Regions from separate parts of the Homo sapiens genome. Here region 1 is linked to region 2. The links are contacts of gene promoters, found by promoter capture Hi-C in human tissues and cell types (Jung and others, 2019). All regions are on one chromosome and are shown on one strand. Each heading gives the region's core, a stretch centred on a gene start or on the middle of the fragment in contact. The rest is flanking DNA. Distances are from core to core; before and after follow the strand shown. Region 1 overlaps ADGRG2 (adhesion G protein-coupled receptor G2). Region 2 holds the start of RS1 (retinoschisin 1).

Region 1 (4,161 bases), core at 109-2,608, 330 kb after region 2:
CAAAGACATAGTGACATAAGATAGAAGGCAGGGTGGCAAGGGTGGTGGTGTGCTTTCAATCTTGATGTGTAGGAATATTTAGCCTGAAAATAGAGGCAGTCTGGTTGGGGGGATGGCAGAAGGCTGCATATAAGGAGACGGAGAGCCAGGCTTGCTGTTTTCTAGCTTTGTGAATTGGGGGGATATCACATCATCACTTGGAGCCAGTTTCTTCACCTACATTTGGGATGACTGCCTGGCTCACCTCACTGGCTTATCTTGCATGGGGTCACTTGTGTGAAAAACAGGGGATTATACACACTGTTATATATTACTTGTAGATTATCTAAAGGACTCTCTGGCAGAAGAGGTATCAACTTACTGTTTTCTGCCTGAGCAAAACCACTGGTAAGTGCCACCAGGGAGCCAACTGAACTTAATGGAAAATCAGAACTGTAGAGCTTTATAAAATGGTTATTGGCTGCCTTGTAAGGTCATGAACTCCCCAGTAATAGAAGTATTCAAGCAGAAGTTAGATTATCTTTAGTCAAGGATAAGTCAGGTGGAGTTGAGGGTTGAAGAGGCTCCTGCATTGGGTGGGAAATTGAATGAAGAAATCTTCAACATATTTGGGGAGCCTAAGGCCTTGCGACCTGCCACCAATAGGCTGCACAATCTGAAATGTCATGCCCACGTGGCAGTGAAGTTACAATGGGTTTTATATGTACATTCTCTCACTCTGCCCTTCTTAGCATACTGTCATACGTGTCTGATATCTGGGAGGTACAAAGTAGAATGAGGCTGGCTGGGAGCTCAGGGACTGAGAGTTTGGGCTCTTTACCACCAAGCTAATGTTTTCAATATATTACCACCCCAAGCTAATGTTTTCAATATATTGAGCACCTTCTGTGCCAGCCCCAAATTCTAGTTCCTGGAGATACAAAGAGGATTCATGGTTCAACCTTGAGGAATTCCATATTCATAACAAATCCAAAGAAATAAACAGGTGTCCTAGAAGGAGACTTGACAAAGTTGCTCTTCGGGCAGTGCACATGTAAGAGTATAAAGCTGTTTTAGAAACTTGCTGAATGTGATCTGCTTCATCGTTTCCACCTGCTCAAAAATCAAAACACTAGAGAAAAGGCAGAGAAAGTCCAGGCAACATGCAGGCAAGCTTATACATACCCCAACCGACAATGCAGAATTTAAGGATGTATTTTCGGATGTAAGTATTAAATACTTTGACAAGGGCCAGGTACATATGGAATGCTTCTAGGCCCATCCATGTGAATGAGACCAAGAGAAAATAATGAAGAAATACAGCCACTGAGATGCAGAGGCCTTGCATCTTATACAGAGCAATCCACGAGTCCAGGAGGAAGACCAGGTTCAGCAGAAGCAGAGCAGCACACAGCTGGATGAGGATTTTGGAAGGGTAATCCCTCCGGATCTTTCTAAAAGGAAAGGATGAGAACAAGAATGAGCATTCTACTCTGCCAACCCTCCAACTTTTTTTTGGTTTAAGATAAGGTCTGGCTCTGTCACCCAGGCTGGAGTGCAGTAGCGTGATCTCAGGTCACTGCAACCTCTGCCTCCTGGGCTCAAGCGATCTTCCCACCTCAGTCTCCTGAGTGGCTGGGACTACAGGCGCTCTCTACCACACCCTTATTTTTTTTGTAGAGACACGGTTTCGCCATGTTGCCTAGGCTGGCCTCAAACTCCTGGGCTCAAGCAATCCTGCTGCCCTGGCTTCCCAAAGTGTTGGGATTACAGGCATGAGTTACCACACCTAGCACCAACCCTTATGTAAGCATATCTGTCAGGCTCTTTGAGTTTTAAGCAATTTATTTTTATTCTTTGGTAAATGTCTATATGCATAAATTTCCTCTGTTTGAGTATATGTGTATATGGGGTGGGGGGGAGCTTAAAACCAACAACAACAAAGGAAAAATCTAAACAGAATCATCTGTGATAACCATAAGGAGAATTTGTGTCTGTATTTCTGTGGGACCTTTTACATGCTGACTGTTGACGCATACTTTTAAATAGTTTGTAGTAGACTCTACTAAGCACTCGCCCTATTTCTCCCAGACTACTTTCGGAAGCATTGGTGCTGCTTCTCATGGAGTCTGCTATATTCAGATCTTCAAAATTTAACCAAGATTCCCATATTATTGTATGTTATTAGGTAAAATGAGATCATGGAAAGAAGAGTTTAAACTACAGCTAAATGTAATAGCATAGGAGAAGCCAGCTAATTGATGACATGTTCATGTTTATGCATGCAAAATTAGATCCGATGAAATCATTCTGAGTAATGGCTGGCCTTCTGGTTATTTAGTCTCACTAATAATATTTCCAAAGGCTCACTAGAAGATCCGTAGTCACAGCTAGACCCTAACTTTGGCACTGAAAATAAATTTTTACATTTCCTGATCAGTGTCCAAAATCTAAATCCAAGAACCTACATATTGTTTCGATTCGTTAATGCAATAAAAATGCCCATGTCCTTCTTTTCCATTAGAATTTGTTGGAATTACCCCCAAAAAGCAACCAAAGGGACCTGTCTGGTAAGCCAAGAAGGAAAGGCTGTTTTTTAGAATGGCATTCTTGCTGCAGAGCTACACTCACTGAATATCTATTTTTTTCAGTAAAGCTTTTACATCCTTATTTCTCTCCATCCCCACACCAGTTAATGTATTTAATCTTTTGTGTTTGCTCAGTATAATTTAGAAATGTAATTTATTAAACATAGTTCTTATGCTGTACATGGTGCTGTGGTCTATTTCAGATGGTAAGTCTCTGGGTTTTGGGGCCTGCATCCCTCATTCATTTCACACTTTATGTCTATCAGGTACTGGGTGTCATTCTGGGGCACCAAGATGATTCTGACACAACCCCTGCCTTCAGGGAGTCCACAGACTAGTGTGAGGACACAAGCATATAAACCAACAAGTCCCATAAAGTTGATACATGGATGCTCCACTAGCTGGGTGTACAGGGTAAGGCAGGCCGAGGAAAGGGCTTAGTTAATAAATGTTGGCAATGGAGGTGAGTGCTGAGTCCTAAATCCAAATTTCCGGTTGTGGATACTCACTCAAAAGCTATGTAGGTTACAAGAGTCACTGACAGAAAAATTGATGAAAGCCCACAACCAATATATGTAATGAACGTCAGAGCCATCATTTGAGCAGGCAGCACAGATGTCCTAGATAGGTCCTGGAAAATGAAATATTGCTTTTAATAATCAAATATTTTTAAATAAATACAAGACTTATGATGTATCAAGTATTCTAGGGATCCATTCATAGTCTATTCAACAAACCTATGAGGTAGGCACAATTATTACTATCAGGTAAAGATAAGGAAACAGAGACAGACACAGAGAGGTTAAGTAACTTGCTCAAGGACACACAGATAGAAAGTGGAGAAGCCAAGATTCAAATTCAGGTCTGGCACACTCCAAAGCCCACATACTTGATCACTGCATTATAGTGCAATGGAAAGGAACTGGACTAGGAGCCTAAAGACTGCAATTTAGCTCCTGCCTCTTACATTTCTTAGTTCTATGACTGTGGGCAACTATCTAACAAGAGAGTCTTAATTCTGATTTTAATAAAATGACAATAGCAACTCCCCATTCTACCTATCTTGCAGGACTGTTGGGATGATTAAATAAGAGCATTTATGTCAAAGTGTTTTGTAAAAATCTTAAAGTGCATTGCAAACTAAACAATTTTTATTACTCATCCTAATCTGAATTCCTTAGTTCTCTTAATTATTTAAAAGAGAAAAACTTAAATGTAAAAAGAGAATGTGAAAAAATACTTGTCTTTCATGTTCAGGTATTTTCCTTCAGGTGCATTTGCTTATTAGAAGAGGAATCTCTCTCTCTTTTTTTTTTTTTTTTTGAGATGGCGTCTCTCTCTGTTGCCCAGACTGGAGTACAATGGTGTGATTTCGGCTTACTGCAACCTCTGCCTCCCAGGATCAAGCGATTATCCTGCCTCAGCCTCCTGAGTAGCTGGGACTACAGGTACGCACCACCACACCCAGCTAATTTTGTATTTTTAGTAGAGACGGGGTTTCGCCATGTTGGCCAGGCTGGTCTCGAACTCCTGACCTCAAGTGATCCACCCACCTTGGCCTCCCAAAGTGCTGGGATTACAGGCGTGAGCCACC
Region 2 (3,949 bases), core at 926-3,425:
TTGCAGGGCACCTGGAGAGACGATGTTCTCTGCTCTTCGTGGACATTTCTGGAGCTCCCCAGCCATGCACAAAGATTGGTAAACTTTAGAACACGAAAGAGTGCTATCCTTCATGCCTCCTGACAGCCTGTCTTTTATTGCTGATATCCACTAACTGGGCAGGTCTAATTTTAAAATGCTTTGGTAAACATTTCTAGGACTTCTTCGCATCGCGGGGGTGGGGAGGTCACAGAACAGGGTTGTTAGACTCAGCACTGTGGAAGAAACAAGGATGCCCTGCATGTCAAGTCCTTTTTTTTTTTTTTTTTTTTGAGACTGAGTCTCGCTCAGTCACCCAGGCTGGAGTGCAATGGCATGATCTCAGCTCACTGCAACCTCCCTCTCCAGCAATCAGACGATTCTCCCGCTTCAGCCTCCCCCGAGTAGCTGGGATTAGAGGCACCTGCCATCATGCCCAGATACTTTTTGTATTTTTGTAGAGACGGGGTTTCACCAGGTTGGGCAGGCTGGTCTCAAACTCCTGACCTCAGGTGATAGACCCGCCTCAGCCTCCCAAAGTGCTGGGATTACAGTCATGAGCCACCGCGCCCCGCCGTCATACACAATGTTTGCCCCCTAGCAGATAGTCAGGGATGAGCTCTTAAAAGAAGGGACCAAGGAATGAATGAATGAATCTCCATGCCAATCACAAAGAAGAGAAATCCGAGAGTGAGCCCTGGGAGTGTCTGACAACCAGGAGTATTTAGATCTAAGCCTTGAAAGAGTCTGCTTAGATTTTCTTGCTGAGGAAAGAGGAGGGGGCAAGGAGTAAAAGGAAAAACAACAAAACCCCAAAGCATCTTAAAGTAGTCAGAGTTACTGGGACAAGTTGCAGACTATTAATTGCAAGGGGAAAAAATCCTAACAGACAACTGGTTTACATGATCCCTACTTAGAAATATACCTTGGGGTTTGCAGAATGACCTTGGAATTATATTGTCACCAGTCTTTCCAAATACTGAGAAATGTGACTAAGTAACAAAAGTCATCAGCCTGGGAAACATGGTGAAAACCCCTCTCTACAAGAAATACAATAAATTAGCCGGATGTGGTGGTGCGTGCCTGTAGTCCCAGCTACTAGGGAGGCTGAGGCAGGAGGATGGCTTGAGCCTGGGAGGTTGAGGCTACAGTGAGCCGTGAAACCAAGAATTCTGATTCTACTTGTGTGAGTTTCGCTGTGTCTGTCTACCAGGTCATTTGCAGAGCACAGAGACCTCCTTCTCCCTGCTTTTTAATTTATTTTCTATAACACACAAATACACGATGTCCACAAAGAAGACAGGCAACCAATTTCTAACATCTGGATGAACCTGAGGAGAAATTCTGAGCAGATGGGTACTTGAGAATTGAGAGAGGCATGAAAGAATATTATTTCAAAGATTGAGAGGGAATTGGAACTGGATGACATTTTACAGATTTGCCCTTATTTTTTCCTAATTGAAGCATATCACTTCTGCTAGGGTCATATTTAGAAATTTTAAAATGAGTGAGTGTACTGAGTCTCCGAGGTTTCCTGACTCTCAGTTGGATTATGTTTTTTATTAGATTCCAGTGGTACTGGGTATGTTACGTTAATCCATATTTAAACTAGGTTGACCTTACACCCCAATTTGCCCTGGATGGTCCTGGGTTACACCTGTCGTCCCAACAGAATTATTAATAGCATCGTCCTCCACCGTCAATAGCATTCCGGTTTGGAATATTAAATTCTACAATCACTCCCACTTTGACTCCTAAAAGTTTTCCAGAATATGCCATACTTTCTCATTAATTGTTGCAACTTATGGCTATTTTATAGATTTCTGAGACCCATCCTGTTTTCTGTTGGATTTTAAGCATCCTTTGAACTTTAGAAGGCTCCTCACAGAACTGGAAAGCCATCCACACAAAGACAACTGTTGTTCATTAATAACACATGTTAGTTAATTAACGTGTTGCTAATTAATAATATTTATATTATTCAGGCTATATTCCTATTTATCAACGATATTAATTAAATTATGTATTAAGTATGCAATGAATGTCAATGGTTGAATAGCACATACCTTCATAGCCAAAGAGAAGTAATAACAAAAAGCCTTCTATCTTGCGTGACATCTTCCCCTCGTCCTCGGCCAAAGCTCTACCTTACTGAACTGGAGAGCTGGCCCAGGAGCAGGGGATTAAGTTGAGCCCTGGCCTCATTAAGCATCTTAATCCATTTAGTTCTTAGGTCTTTGGCTGAGCCCCATCAAGTTAACCCACAGAGTTACCTGCCTCAACAAGGAAGTCTCATGGAAGATACTAGCATCAACTGAGATTCAGTTCGCGAGGAAGATACTTTTCGTTCTTTTTTTTTTTTTTTTTTTTTTTTTTGAGATGGAGTTTCGCTCTTGTCACCCAGGCTGGAGTGCAATGGCGCCATCTCGGCTCACTGCAACCTCTGCCTCCCGGGTTCAATCTAGTCTCCTGCCTCAGCCTTCCGAGTAGCTGGGATTATAGGCTCACGCCACCACGCCCAGCTAATTTTTGTATTTTTAGTAGAGATGGGGTTTCGTCATGTCAGTCAGGCTGGTCTCGGACTCCTGACCTCAGGTGATCCACCCACCTCGGCCTCCCAAAGTGCTGGGATTACAGGCGTCAGCCACTGCGCCCGGCCCATACTGTTCATTCTATCTTAATGTAAGGGAAGCAATGGAGGGAGAGAACTACAACCAGAAGTCTCAGGTTTTCGTCCTTTCTTCGCCATCATTTTTTAGGGGGTGACCTTGAACAATTTCCTGCCACATAAGCACTAACATTCTCGAATTGTATGAAAATGTCATGGATTCCCCTCTTTGAAAGCAACTAGGCATCATGTGCACACCTATTCACTCAGGAAAATGCTAAATTTGGTGGTGGTGGGAGGACAGTTAACACAAAGCTGTGCATTGCTGTGTTACTTTTAACAACAACAAATTGGAAACAATCTAAATGGCCAAGGTTAGGGGGCTGGTTAAGTAAATCAAGAGATGAGTGCAGCCTGGTAGGTTTAAGAGCACAGACTGCCAACCCAGACTGGGTGCCAAATCGCAGCACTAGCACTTGTTACATTGTGACCTCAGGGCAAGTTATTAATATCTCTGCGCCTAAACTTTCTCATCTGTAAGATGATGATAATAATGCCTACTTTCGAGAGTTATTTTGAGGCTTACAAGAGATCATATGTATAAAATACTTAGCACAGTGCTAGACATAATTAGCTATTATTTTTACATCACCATTCAGAATAAAGTTGATGGGAGGAAAAGGGGAGTTGTTTAATAGGTATAGAGTTGAGTTTTGCAAGATGAAAAAGTTCCCGAGATCTGTTTCACAACAATGTGAATATACTTAACACTACTGAACTGTACACTTAAAAATGATTATGGTGGGCTGGAGGTGGTGGCTCACACCTGTAATCCCAGCACTTTGGGAGGCCAAGGCAGGCAGATCACTTGAGGTCAGGAGTTCGAGACCAGCCTGGGCAACATGGCGAAACCTCGTCTCTACCAAAAATACAAAAATTAGTCGGGCGTGGTGGCGTGCACCTATAATCTCAGCTACTCGGGAGGCTGAGGCAGGAGAATCGCTTGAACCCAGGAGGCCGAGGTTTCAGTGAGCCGAGATTGTACCACTGCACTCCAGCCTGGGTGACAGAGCCAGACTCTGTCTCAAAAAAAAAAAAAAATGGTTAAGGTGGTTTTAAAAAAGGCCGGGCACGGTGGCTCAAGCCTGTAATCCTAGCACTTTGGGAGGCCGAGGCGGGCGGATCACGAGGTCAGGAGATCGAGACCATCCTGGCTAACACGGTGAAACCCCGTCTCAACTAAAAATACAAAAAATTAGCCGGGCGAGGTGGCAGGCGCCTGTAGTCCCAGCTACTCGGGAGGCTGAGGCAGGAGAATGGTGT

What was found. The method cuts DNA at HindIII sites, captures the fragments that hold promoters and counts their contacts. A contact is called where the count stands out against the background at its distance.
Region 1: a fragment that was not itself captured here is called in contact with the fragment with the promoter of RS1 in region 2 in 1 of the 25 tissues and cell types used here (pancreas).

The regions. Positions count from the first base shown.
Region 1 is chrX:19,001,682-19,005,842 of GRCh38, forward strand. ADGRG2 (adhesion G protein-coupled receptor G2) reads right to left here. Exons shown (of 29, transcript NM_001079858.3): 23 at 3,077-3,198; 24 at 1,165-1,433. The region is part of intron 2 of LOC101928415 (a long non-coding RNA gene); the gene reads left to right. Among named protein-coding and RNA genes, the nearest start is that of PHKA2, 20 kb to the left of the region's middle. The HindIII fragment of the contact is 4,254 bases long and covers 1-3,485 here.
Region 2 is chrX:18,669,933-18,673,881 of GRCh38, forward strand. RS1 (retinoschisin 1) reads right to left here and starts at 2,176. Exons shown (of 6, transcript NM_000330.4): 1 at 2,085-2,176. The coding sequence starts at 2,136. The HindIII fragment of the contact is 16,600 bases long and covers 1-3,949 here.